Linked DNA regions of Homo sapiens: region 1 is linked to region 2. Evidence: promoter capture Hi-C in human tissues and cell types (Jung and others, 2019). All regions are on one chromosome and are shown on one strand. Each heading gives the region's core, a stretch centred on a gene start or on the middle of the fragment in contact. The rest is flanking DNA. Distances are from core to core; before and after follow the strand shown. Region 1 holds the start of SYCE2 (synaptonemal complex central element protein 2). Region 2 holds the start of ZNF441 (zinc finger protein 441).

Region 1 (5,925 bases), core at 1,482-3,981, 1.2 Mb after region 2:
TTTGTTTCTTCATTCCACTTACTTGCCACCAGTTGAAATCACATTATTCACTTATTTATTTTTGAGACAGGGTCTTGCTCTTCCAGTGCAGTGAAGCAATCACGTCTCACTGCAGCCTCGACCTCCCAGGCTCAAGTGGTCCTCCCACCTCAGCCTTCCAAGTAGCTAGGGCCACAGGTGTGTGCAACCGCACCACACCACGCTCATTTCTTTCTTTCTTTCTTTCTTTTTTTTCAGAGAGATATGTCTCCCTCTGTTGCCCAGGCTGGTCTCAAACTCCTGGGCTCAAGGGATCCTCCTGCCTTGGCCTCCTGAATAGCCAGGACTACATGCATGCACCACCACGCCTGGCTGATTTTTGTGTTTTTAGTAGAGACGGAGTTTCACCATGTGGGCCAGGCTGGTCTCGAAATCCTGACCTCAAGTTATCTGCCAGCGCCAGCCTCCCAAAGTGCTGGGATTACAGGCGTGAGCCACTGCGCCCAGCCTCTACTATATATATACTTTTTTTTTTTTTTTTTGAGACAGAGTCTTGCTCTGTCACCAAGGCTGGAATGCAATGGCACAATCTTGGCTTACTGCAATCTCTGCCTCCCAGGTTAAAGCAATTCTCCTGCCTCAGCCTTCTGAGTAGCTGGGATTACAAGTGTCTGTCACCATGCCTGGCTAATTTTTGTAGACACAGGGTTTCACCATATTGGCCAGGCTAGTCTCAAACTCCTGACCTCATGATCTGCCTGCCTTGGCCTCCCAAAGTGCTGGGATTACAGGCGTAAGCCACCGTGCCCGGCCTACTAAATTTTTCTTTTTTCTTTTTTTTGAGACGGAGTCTCACTCTGTCACCAGGCTGGCATGCAGTGGCATGATCTCGGCTCACTACAACCTCTGCCTCTGGGGTTCAAGCGATTCTCCTGCCTTAGCCTCCCGAGTAGCTGGGACTACAGGCGTGCACCACAACACCCAGCTAACTTCTGTATTTTTAGTAGAGACGGGGTTTCATCATGTTAGCCAGGATGGTCTCCATCTCTTGACCTTTTGATCCACCCCCCTCGGCCTCCCAAAGTGCTAGGATTACAGGCATAAGCCACCATTCCTGGCTTTTTTTTTTTTTTTTTGAGACAGCGTTTCGGTCTTTTTGCCCAGGCTGGAGTGCAATGGCGCCATCTCAGCTCACTGCAACCTCCACCTCCTGGGTTCAAGCGATTCTCCTGCCTCAGCCTCCTGAGTAGCTGGGATTACAGGCATGTGCCACTATGCCCAGCTAATTTTGTATTTTTAGTAGAGACGGGGTTTCTCCATGTTTGTCAGGCTGGTCTCAAACTCCCGACCTTAGGTGATCCACCCGCCTTGGCCTCCCAAAGTGTTGGGATTACAGGTGTGAACCACTGCACCTGGCCAATATTTTTTAATAAATTGGCCCGACATTCTGGCCCGCCTCTAGTCCCAGCCATTTCGGAGGCTGAGGTGGGAGGATCACTTGAGTCTGGGAGGTGGAGGTTGCAGTGAGCCGTGATCATGCCACTGCGTGGTGACAAAGCAAGACGCTGTGTTAGGAGGGAAAAAAAAAGCAGCAGACACTGGCATAGCCTTGTGGAAGAAAAGGGTGAATGAGAGGGACCCAGGGGCCTGTGTAGACCCATAGGGCTGGGATCTTCCTCACCTAGCTGGCCCTCCACCAGCTTCCTCCTCGCAGTTCTCTTCCCACCGCGGATGCTCCTTGCTCTCCCCCAAGGGCTGCGGTTCCTGGTCTTTGCATTTCACATGGGGCACGTCCACCTGCAAGCACAGTCAGGACGGAGGCCAAGGAGGGAGGATGAGGAGTGAACAGATCGCCCTCCTGCCGACCCTTCAACCCTGGTCACCTCGATGTGCTGCTGCGGGACGGTGGGGACCCGCAGGAAAGACGGGCAGGGCTGGGGCAGGTGCCATGAGGGCAGGGGCATGGGGTGAAAGGACACTCTGTCCCTAGGGGACACCAGGACACCAGACCTAGAGGGGCCGGGTGAGGGCAGGGCTGTGGGAATGTAACTGGAGGACCTGGGCTCCTAACTGGTATGTGTGTTGGCTGGAGTCCTTCGAGAAAGGAGAAGAGGTAGGAGAAAAGAGATGAGGCCGGGCGCGGTGGCTCACGCCTGTAATCCCAGCACTTTGGGAGGCGGAGGCGGGCGGATCACGAGGTCAGGAGTGCGAGAACAGCCTGAGCAATATGGTGAAACCCCGTCTCTACTAAAAATACAAAAATTAGCTGACGTGGTGGTGCGTGCCTGTAATCCCAGCTACTCGGGAGGCTGAGGAAGGAGAATCACTTGAACCCGGGAGGCAGAGGTTGCAGTGAGCCGAGATCACGCCACTGCACTCCAGACTGGGCGACAGAGTGATACTTCGTCTCAAAAAAAAAAAAAAAAAGAAATGAAAGAAACGGGTGCGGTGCGTGGGTGTTTGTGCCTTTCTCTACTCCGTTCCGGCCACGCGCCATGTGTGGAAATCAGACCCGTCAGTGCGTCAGTCAGGGCCGGGTTCAGTCAGTCAGGAAATTTGAGGCCAGGCCTGATGAGAGGGAGCCCCAATGGCAAAGGACAAGCGGCCGGGCTCGGGTCCGCTGGAGATGGCTGGGATCGCAGCCGTTCCCTGCCTATCTGTCCGCCCGCCCCACGCGCGAGAAGGAAACAAGCGCCGCGTACTCCCTGTCGCTCCATTCCGTATTTTCCCGCCTTCAAGCTCGCACCCTCTGCGCATGCGCCGACCCCGCCCCTGGCCAGCTGCGCTCCCGCGGACGAGTGTGTTGTGACGCGTGCTCCCGGCCCCGCCCTCTTTGAGAACTTGCGCGGCCAACTGGGCGGGGCCGACCGTTAAGCAGCAGTTTCGCGGTCCGCGGGCTGCGCGCGCAGTCGGCGCCCCTTGGGAGCAGGACGGCGCGCTCTGGGTGCGCTTGTGTGCCCCTGTGAGGCTCCTGGGTTCCACGGGGCGCCCAGGTTATACGGATCTCAGAGTCCTGTATTTATTCGGTGCTTCTAACTTCATCCACTCTGCCTTGGAAAATATACTCCATAACAATTTTTTTTTTTTTTTGAGACAAGATCTTGGTCTGTCGCCCAGGCTGGAGTGCAGTGGTGCGATCACAGCTCACTGTAGCCTCGACCTCCCAGGTTCAAGCGATCCTCCTGCCTCGGCCTCCTGAGTAGCAGTGTCATTCACCAGGCCCTTCTAATTTAAAAATATTTTTCTGGCCGGGCGCGGTGGCTCACGCCTGTAATCCCAGCACTTTGGGAGGCCGAGGCGGGTGGATCACCTGAGGTCATGAGTTCGAGACCAGCCTAGCCAACATGGTGAAACTGTCTCTACTAAAAATACAAAAAATAGCCGGGCGTGGTGGCGGGCGCCTATAGTCCCAGCTACTCGGGAGGCTGGGGCAGGAGAATTGCTTAAACCCAGGACGCAGAGGTTGCAGTGAGCTGAGATCATGCCACTGCACTCCAGCCGGGGTGACAGAGTAAAGCTCCGTCTCAAAAAAAAAAAAAAGATTGTATGTATATATACACACACACACACACACACACACACACATAATTATATTTTTTTTTCCTGTAGAAATGAGATCTCACTGTGCTGAGCCCAGGCTGATCCCCAACTCCTGGGCTCAAGCCGTCCTCCCGTCTTGGTCTCCCAAAGTGCTGTCTCAAAAAAAGAAGAAATTATCTGATCTACCCTATTGACTGTAGGTCATAAGACCCCCGTTTCAAAGAAGTTTCTGCCCCACACAAGGCCTATCTATCTAGATTCTTCTTGGCCTCTCTGAGCATGCATTCCTGAGACTCCAAGAAGAATCTAGACAGATAGGCCTTGCTGGGTTTCCCCACTCAGCCTATTAGTATTAGACGACCCCCCCGGCTTTTTTTTTTTTTTTTTTTTTTTGTCTTGCTCTGTTGTCCAGGCAACACTGGAGTGCAGTGGCAAGATCTCAACTCGCTGCAACCTTGGCCTCCCAGGTTCAAGCGATTCTCAGCCAACCAAGTAGCTGGGATTACAGATGCACCATGCCCAGCTAATTTTTGTATTTTTAGTAGAGATGGGGTTTTTCCATGTTGCTCAGGCTGGTCTCAAACTCCTGGCCTCAAGTGATCCACCCGCCTCAGCCTCCCAAAGTGTCAGGATTACAAGTATGAACCACGACAAACCCTTTTTGTCCAATCAAATTTCTACCTGGGTGTTCAAACTTTGCTGAACCTAAGCATAAGACACTTTTCATTAATCAGGCATGGTGGCGGGCACCTGTAATCCCAGCTGCTTGGGAAGCTGAGGCTGCTGTGAGCCAAGATCGCCCCTACACTCCAGCCCAGGGAACAGAGCCAGACTCCGTCTCAAAACAAAACAAAACAAAAACACAGTTTCCCCTGTATCTCTGGATCTTCATTCTGAAGGCTTGTCAGGTAACACTATGATCAAATACATTCGTATTCCTTTTCTCTTATTAATCTGCCTTTTCTCAGTAATTTTTAGTGAAACTTCAGAGGGCAATAAGGAAGCTTTCTCTTCACCCCTACACAGCCAAAGTTCAGATTTGATGGAAATGGCAAGATTCCAGGGTACTTGTGTTTATTTAGACACATAAATATGTATTTAACGACAGGGTCTCACTCTGTTGCCCAGGCTGGAGTGCAGTGGTGTAATCACGGCTCATTGCAGCCTCGACCTCCCAGGCTCAAGTGATCAACCTCAGTCTCTGGAGTACCTGGGATTACAGGCATGAGCCACTATGCTGAGCTAATTTTTGTTTTCTGTTTTTGGGGGACAGGTCTCACTCTGTGGCCCAGACTGGAGTGCAGTGGTGTGATCTCAGCTCCCTACAACCTCCACCTCCTGGGTTCAAGTGATTCTCCCACCTCAGCCTCCCAGATAGCTGGGACTACAGGTGCCTGCCATCATGCCTGCTAATTTTTGTTTTTTGTTTTTTTTTTTGGAACAGAGTCTTCTTCTGTCACCCAGGCTGTAGTGCAGTGGCACAATCTTGGCTCACTGCAACCTCCACCTCCTGGTTCAAACGATTCTCGTGCCTCAGCCTCCCGGGTAGCTGGGACTACAGGTGCTCACCACCACGCCCAGCTTTTTTTTTGTATTTTTAGTAGAGACGGGTTTTCACCACGTTGGCCAGGCTGCTCTCGAACTCCTGACCTCAAGTGATCTGCCTGCCTCAGCTTCCCAAAGTGTTGGAATTACAGGCGTGAGCCACCACGCCCAGCCTAATTTTTTTTTTTTTTTTTTTGAGACGGAGTCTTGCTCTATTGCCCAGGCTGGAGTGCAGTGGTGCGATCTCCGCTCACTGCAAGCTCCGCCTCCCAGGTTCACACCATTCTCCTGCCTCAGCCTCCTGAGTAGCTGGGACTACAGGCACCCGCCACCACGCCCGGCTAATTTTTTGTATTTTTAGTAGACAGGGTTTCACCATGTTGGCCAGGATGGTCTCAATCTCTTGACCTCATGATCCACACGCCTCAGCCTCCCAAAGTGCTGGGATTACAGGCATGAGCCACCGCACCCAGCCCTAATTTTTTTATTTTTAGTAGAGATGGGGTTTCACCACGTTGGCCAGGCTGCTCCTGAATTCCTGACCTCAAGTGACCCACCCACCTTGGCCTCCCAAAAGTTCTGGGATTACAGAAGTGAGCCACTGTGCCTGGCTCAGTACCCATACTTTTTTTTTTTTTTTTTGTATTTTTAGTAGAGACGGGGTTTCACCCTGTTAGCCAGGATGGTCTCGATCGCCTGGCCTCGTGACCCGCCCGCCTCAGCCTCCCAAAGTGCTGCGATTACAGACGCGGGCCACCTCGCCCAGCCCAGTACCCAGAATTTTGACCATCAAGTGGCACACTGAGCTAGGGGGACCCAACAAGACCCCTCACCCCTAAGGAAAGCCACCAGATGGGGGCA
Region 2 (5,874 bases), core at 668-3,167:
TGAGAGTGCAGTTGGTATGATTTTGTTTGCTTGTTTTTTTAATTTGCTGAGGGTTATTTTATGTCTGATTATGTTACTGATTTTAGAGTATGTGCCATGTGGTGAGGAGAAGAATGTATAATCTGTTGGTTTTGGGTGGAAAGTTCTGTAGATGTCATATCCATTTGGTCAGGTGTTGGTGGAAGGCTAAGGAGGAGCAAAGGCAAATGTTACATGGCGGCAGGCAAGAGAGCATGTACAGGGAAACTGCCCTTTATAAAGCCATCAGATTTCATGAGACTTATTCACTATCACGAGAACAGCATGGGAAAACCGCCTCCATGATTCAATTACCTCCCACTGGATCACTCCCATGACATGTGGGGATTATGGGAGCTGCAATTCAAAATGAGATTTGGGTGAGTAAGTCTCATGAGATCCGATGGCTTTATAAAGGGCAGTTCCCCTGCACACGCTCTCTTGCCTGCCGCCATGTAACATTTGCTTTTGCTCCTCCTTTGCCTTCCACCATGATTGTGAGGCCTCCCCAGCCATGCTGAACTGTGAGTCAATTAAACCTCTTTTTCTTCGTATCACCATGGGTGCCAGCTCCCAGTTAATAACGCTTTTTTTTTGTTTGTTTTTAAATAGAGATGGGGGTTTCACCACATTGCCCAGGCCGGTCTTGAGCTCCTGAGCTCAAGCAATCCACCCACCTCAGCCTCCCAAAGTGGTGGGATTGCAGGCATGAGCCACGGTGCCTGGCCTCATAATGCTTTTATATCTGGTATTCTTCATAAAAATATGAAGATGAATGTTTTCAAATTCAAAGTCTAATGTCTCAGCCTTTGATTGAAGCATTTAATTCAATAACATTTATAGGCTTGATGGAAGGAGCATTTCCACGCTGTGTTTAGGAGACAGGAGGGCAAATTGAACTCCCAGAGTTAAATCCATTAGTGCCCCTGACTCATCCCCAGGTTCTGATCCACCCTAGGGCTCCATTTCAGGAATTATCGTCTGGCCTCCAAGCTTTGGAATATGTTTGGCCTCCTGAAAGTGGTTGACTTGTGAACTGTGTGTGGATGCAGCAGGCTGCTTATCTGAGCTAGTTCAAGTTTTTGCTTTATAAAATATTGCCGCCATATAATTCCAGTTTTTCCACACATTTAACAATTTTATTTATTTCTTTTTTCTTTTTTCTTTTTTTTTTTTTTTGAGACGGAGTCTCCCTCTGTCTCGCCCACTCTCTCACTGCAGCCTCTGCCTTCCAGGTTCAAGTGATTCCTCTGTCTCAGCCTCCTGAGTAGCTGGGACTACAGGCGTGCGCCACCACATCCGGCTAATCTTTGTATTTTAGAGACGGGATTTCACCATGTTGGCCAGACTGGTCTCGAATTTCTGACCTCAGGTGATCCACCTGCCTCAGCCTCCCAAAGTGCTGGGATTACAGGTGTGAGCCACCACGCCCGGCTTTGTTGGGGTGTTTTTATATTCTGCACTGAAAATTAGTAGATTGAGACATAAGGTGGGAGAAAGGCTTGGCCTGTGCAGCCAACAGCCTCATCCAAAACTCCTGATTCCTGGAGGACATCAGCCCCTCCCTTCTGCTGCAGTGTGGCCTGGGCTCCCTTCCTGCTCTCAAATCAGGGGATAGCTCCACTGGACAGTGAGTCTGGAATTTCCTGCACAGACTTGTGGGTCCCTGTCCAAGAGGAAAAAGGAGGAAGGTCAGGACATACTGCCTAAATGCAAATGTCCCCTGGGAGGGGGTCAGGTCACAGCGCAGGGAGGAAGCTAGTCCTCTCAAGGCCTGTCTGGAATCTGTTTATCAGGTTCCACTCCGCTGCCCGAGATCGCTTCTTCCGTTACTCAGTGCCCGGGGGAGGGACCTGGCGCACTATCCAATCAGGGCCGCGGGGCGGGGTCGTGAGAACTGTCAATCAGGCGCACTGACCGGAGGAGGGTGCAAGGTTCAAAGAGCCCGCCGAGTCTTCTCCACGCCCCTGCACTGGGCTCCGGGTTCTGTCACTGAGAGACGCCCTGGAACGTCTGTGGCAGCTTCTGTCTCGCTGGGACCCGCACTGACAGCGGGAGGCAGAGGGAGGAACCTGGACGCCGGAAGCCGGGAAATGGTGAGTGTGTGAGGTCTGGTGTCCCGACGCGTGAGAGGAGAGACTGGTTGGAACCGGCCGGAACCGGCTGTGGTGGCACCAGGTCTTCCCCGCCGGCGACACCCTGGCGCAGCTCGGCCCTCGGTTCCCTCGGCCGCACGATGGGGCTGGGGCGGCAGCCGGGACCCCGGGCGTCCTGTCCCGTCCCTGCGCGGCCACTGCGGCCCTGGCCCTGGAGGCCTGTCTGGGCAGCTCCGCGCCCGCAGTCCTGCGTCTCCCCAGATTGTGCGGCTGTAACCGGCACAGGTTCGCGGCCCGAGTCACTGCACCGAGACGCCGAGGGCTGCAGCAGAAACAGTTTAATAGGGGGAGAGGGGAGGACACCCCAGATCCGCCTTCCTGAGAGGTTTGGGGATGGGGTGTTTAGGGGTGTGGACAGGGGCGGCTGGGGCGTGGGGTCGCTGGATGGTGGGGAAGTGAGGGGTGACTCTTGGGACTGGAGGTGAAGAAACCGCATTCTTCTGCTGAGTGGGTTCCCTTGTGGGGTCTTCAGCCTGGTTGGCGCCAGCCTTTCCGCTGGAATTCAGGATCTGAGAAAGAACTCAGGCGACTCTTGAGCAACTCTCAGAGATCTCATCCCCAAGCACAATGGCGAAGCCGGCGGTCAGCATCTGCTGTGGCCTGACTCTTGGGGAGGCGGCCCCGCGAGGCAGCGGGGCTGAGGGCACCTGGTTAATATCTAACTGCAATCTCGCCTCCAGCCTGGCTCGCAGTTCTGTGAACCCGGTGAGGAGGCTGCACGGTGATGACAGGTCACCAGGCAGACTCGTGTGTGGGGTTTGTGTGTGGGAGGAGTTGTGGTCTGTGTGGTCCCCTGTCCCTTCTTTCTTCCCAAGGGTGACCCGTTCGCCTTCGAGTCTTCCAAAGATGTGGGCAGCAGGGTCTCAAGTCCACCACTGTGTTCTCTCATCCTAACTCCTCCTAGGGCCGACAGAAAATCCCTTGGCTTCCAGAGCCTTCCTCAGGCTTTCTCTCCTCAATTCACAGCAACTTTATGAACTCCTTGTCCCCCAGTTTATTTTTCAAACAGAGGCTAGTATTTTAATTGTCATTTTGTTTATACATAGCAATATATGGCTCTTTGTAAAAGGTTTTGTGTTTGTGAACATTTCACATGAGAGGAAGCAGAGAAAAACCACCAGACATTTCGCTGTAAAAAAAATGAATATTAATAAATAAAATCTTTGTTACTGTCCTCCCTTCATCATCCCTAGACAGAGACACCTTTTGAGAATGTCTTTGGATTAAGTTTCCTCTTTGGAAACGTTACAGAGTGATGAGTCCCCAGCCCATCCTCTATGGTTTCCTGGTCCTGGGTTTCAGAGCTGCCTGGGGCCACCCCAAGATGCCCACAGCTGCCAAGTCTCTTGTAGTGTCAAGTGAATATCAGTCCCTTTGTCACTCCTCCCAGAGGACACCCTGAGGTGGAGATGGTGGGACCTTGTAGGGAAGCAGCATGATGCCCTGTAGTGGGAGGAGTCTCCTGGTATACCCTTCCTCAATAAGCTACTTCCTTAGAACACTCAGCTTTTCTTCCCCCATCCCTTCCTTGGGGATATATGGCTGGTCAGCCAATTGGATGGTGGTATTAAGGGGACAGGACTGAAATGATTCTTCCCTTCTGATGTTCTCAGACTAATGAAGGGAGAAAACTATCCCTAAGGACAGGAAAACCAACTCCACTGAGGTGGTGCAAGAACCTGAAAAGCTAACAATGTAGTGTCTCCTGGGATCATGGTTATTGAGCACTTCGGTGAGCAGCATGGTGATGGGGGATGTTCCAGGTGATAGGAGGACCTGACTTGACACACTCTGCACCCATAGGGAGGTGGTGAAAGGAGATGATGGTATAAGGGATGCATATGGATCAACCAAATTGAAGAACTGGGAGAAGATAGAGAACTAGAAACTGTGTCAAGGGTCATAAAACCCCTTTTTTGGTATGGAAAAACGAAACCACACTCAAAATGGAAGCTGAGGTAACAAACTGAGTAAAAATTAATGAAAACTGGAAAGTCTATAGTTAGTTGATCATTGTATATGGAGATGCTGGGCAGAAGATGGATTATTCTCCTGTAGGTAACCATTTGTCTCCATCATTTCTGTTGAAGTGTCCCTCATTTGTATCACTGCCTGGCAATACCTGCTGTGTCATAGGTTCTTGTACCTTAAGTAGATGCTCTTGTTCCAGAATTTGCCATTTTTCATTGGTTTATGTATCCATCAGTCTGCTAATATCATACTCTCCTGATTACTATAGTCTTCAAAGCCTTGATGTGTGGTAGAGAAAGACCCTTCCTAACTTAGTCCTTTGGGTTGCTATAACAAATTTACCATAGACTGCATGCCTTACACAACAGATATTCATTTCTCAAAGCTATAAAGGCTGAGAATTCAGTTTCAAGCAGCAGGTCAGTTGTCTACTAAAGGACTCTTTTTTTTTTTATTTTTTATTTTTGAGATGGAGTCTTGCTCTGTTGCCCAGGCTGGAGAACAGTGGCATGATCTCAGCTCACTGCAACCTCCGCCTCCTGGGTTCAAGTGATTCTCCTGCCTCAGCTTCCCAAGTAGCTGGGACTACAGGCACATGCCACCACCCCAGCTAATTTTTTGTATTTTTAGTAGAGACGGTGTTTCACCATGTTAGCCAAGATGGTCTCGATCTCCTGACCTCATGATCTGCCCACCTCGGCCTCCCAAAGTGCTGGGATTACAGGTGTGAGCCACCGTGCCCAGCCTGGGCCTCTTTCTTGATTTGCAGATGGCATTCTTCCTGTTATGCCCTCACATGGTGGAGATATGTCTGTAATGTCTGTCTAGTTTTGGTGTTAAGGCAGTTGTATTAGTCCATTTTCACACTGCTATAAAGAACTACCAGAAAAGAGGTTTAATTGACTCACAGTTCCTCATGGCTGGGGAGGCCTCAGGAAACTTACAATTGTGGCGGAAGGGGAAGCAGGCACTTCTTACATGGTGGCAGGCAAGACAGCATGTGAAAGAGGAACTGTCAAACACTTATAAAACCGTCAGATTTCATGAGAACCCACTATCACAAGAACAGCGTGGGGGAAACCGCCCCCATGATCCAGTCACCTCCCACAGGTCCTTCCCTTGATACATGGGGATTATGGGGATTACAGTTGAAGATTAGATTTGGGTGGTGACAAAGAGCCAAACCATATTATCAGTGTTGGCCTTACAACATGAATTAGAAAGTGTTCCCTCTGCTTGTATTTTCTGAAAGAGATTATAGAGAATTGGTGTCATTTCTTCCATAAGTGTTTTCCAGAATTCAACAGTGAAACCATGCTGGCCTGTTCCTTTTTCTTGGGACTTTTTGTTTGTTTGTTTGCTTGAAGTGGAGTTTTGCTTTGTTGTCCAGGCTAAAGTGCAGTATCATGATCTCACTGCAACTTCTGCTCCCTGGGATCAAGTGATCCTCCCACCTCAGCCTCCTGAGTGGCTGGAACTCCCACTACAGCCTCCTGAGTGGCTGGATGTGCCACCCCATCCTGCTAATTTTTTGTGTTTTCTGTAGAGATGGGGTTTCACCATGTTGCCGAGGCTGGTCTTGAACTCCTGGGCTCAAGCAGTCTGCTGATCTTGGCCTCCCAAAGTGCTGGGATTACATGTGTGAGCCACCACGCCTAGCCTACCACTGCACTATAGCCTGGGTGACAGAACAAAACTCTGTTTCAAAAAAAAAAAAAAAAATTGAATG

Evidence for each region. The method cuts DNA at HindIII sites, captures the fragments that hold promoters and counts their contacts. A contact is called where the count stands out against the background at its distance.
Region 1: a contact is called between the fragment with the promoter of SYCE2 here and the fragment with the promoter of ZNF441 in region 2, in 1 of the 25 tissues and cell types used here (stomach).

What each region holds. Positions count from the first base shown.
Region 1 is chr19:12,916,562-12,922,486 of GRCh38, forward strand. SYCE2 (synaptonemal complex central element protein 2) reads right to left here and starts at 2,732. Exons shown (of 6, transcript NM_001105578.2): 1 at 2,682-2,732; 2 at 1,661-1,776. The coding sequence starts at 2,696. It overlaps MIR5695 (microRNA 5695), which reads left to right and starts at 3,759; the gene lies at 3,759-3,843. It overlaps FARSA (phenylalanyl-tRNA synthetase subunit alpha), which reads right to left. Exons shown (of 13, transcript NM_004461.3): 13 at 5,918-5,925. RefSeq lists an enhancer at 2,412-2,551. The HindIII fragment of the contact is 14,742 bases long and covers 1-5,925 here.
Region 2 is chr19:11,765,083-11,770,956 of GRCh38, forward strand. It overlaps ZNF441 (zinc finger protein 441), which reads left to right and starts at 1,918. Exons shown (of 4, transcript NM_152355.3): 1 at 1,918-2,114. The coding sequence starts at 2,112. RefSeq lists an enhancer at 2,079-2,178 and silencers at 2,249-2,388, 2,839-2,948. The HindIII fragment of the contact is 15,674 bases long and covers 1-5,874 here.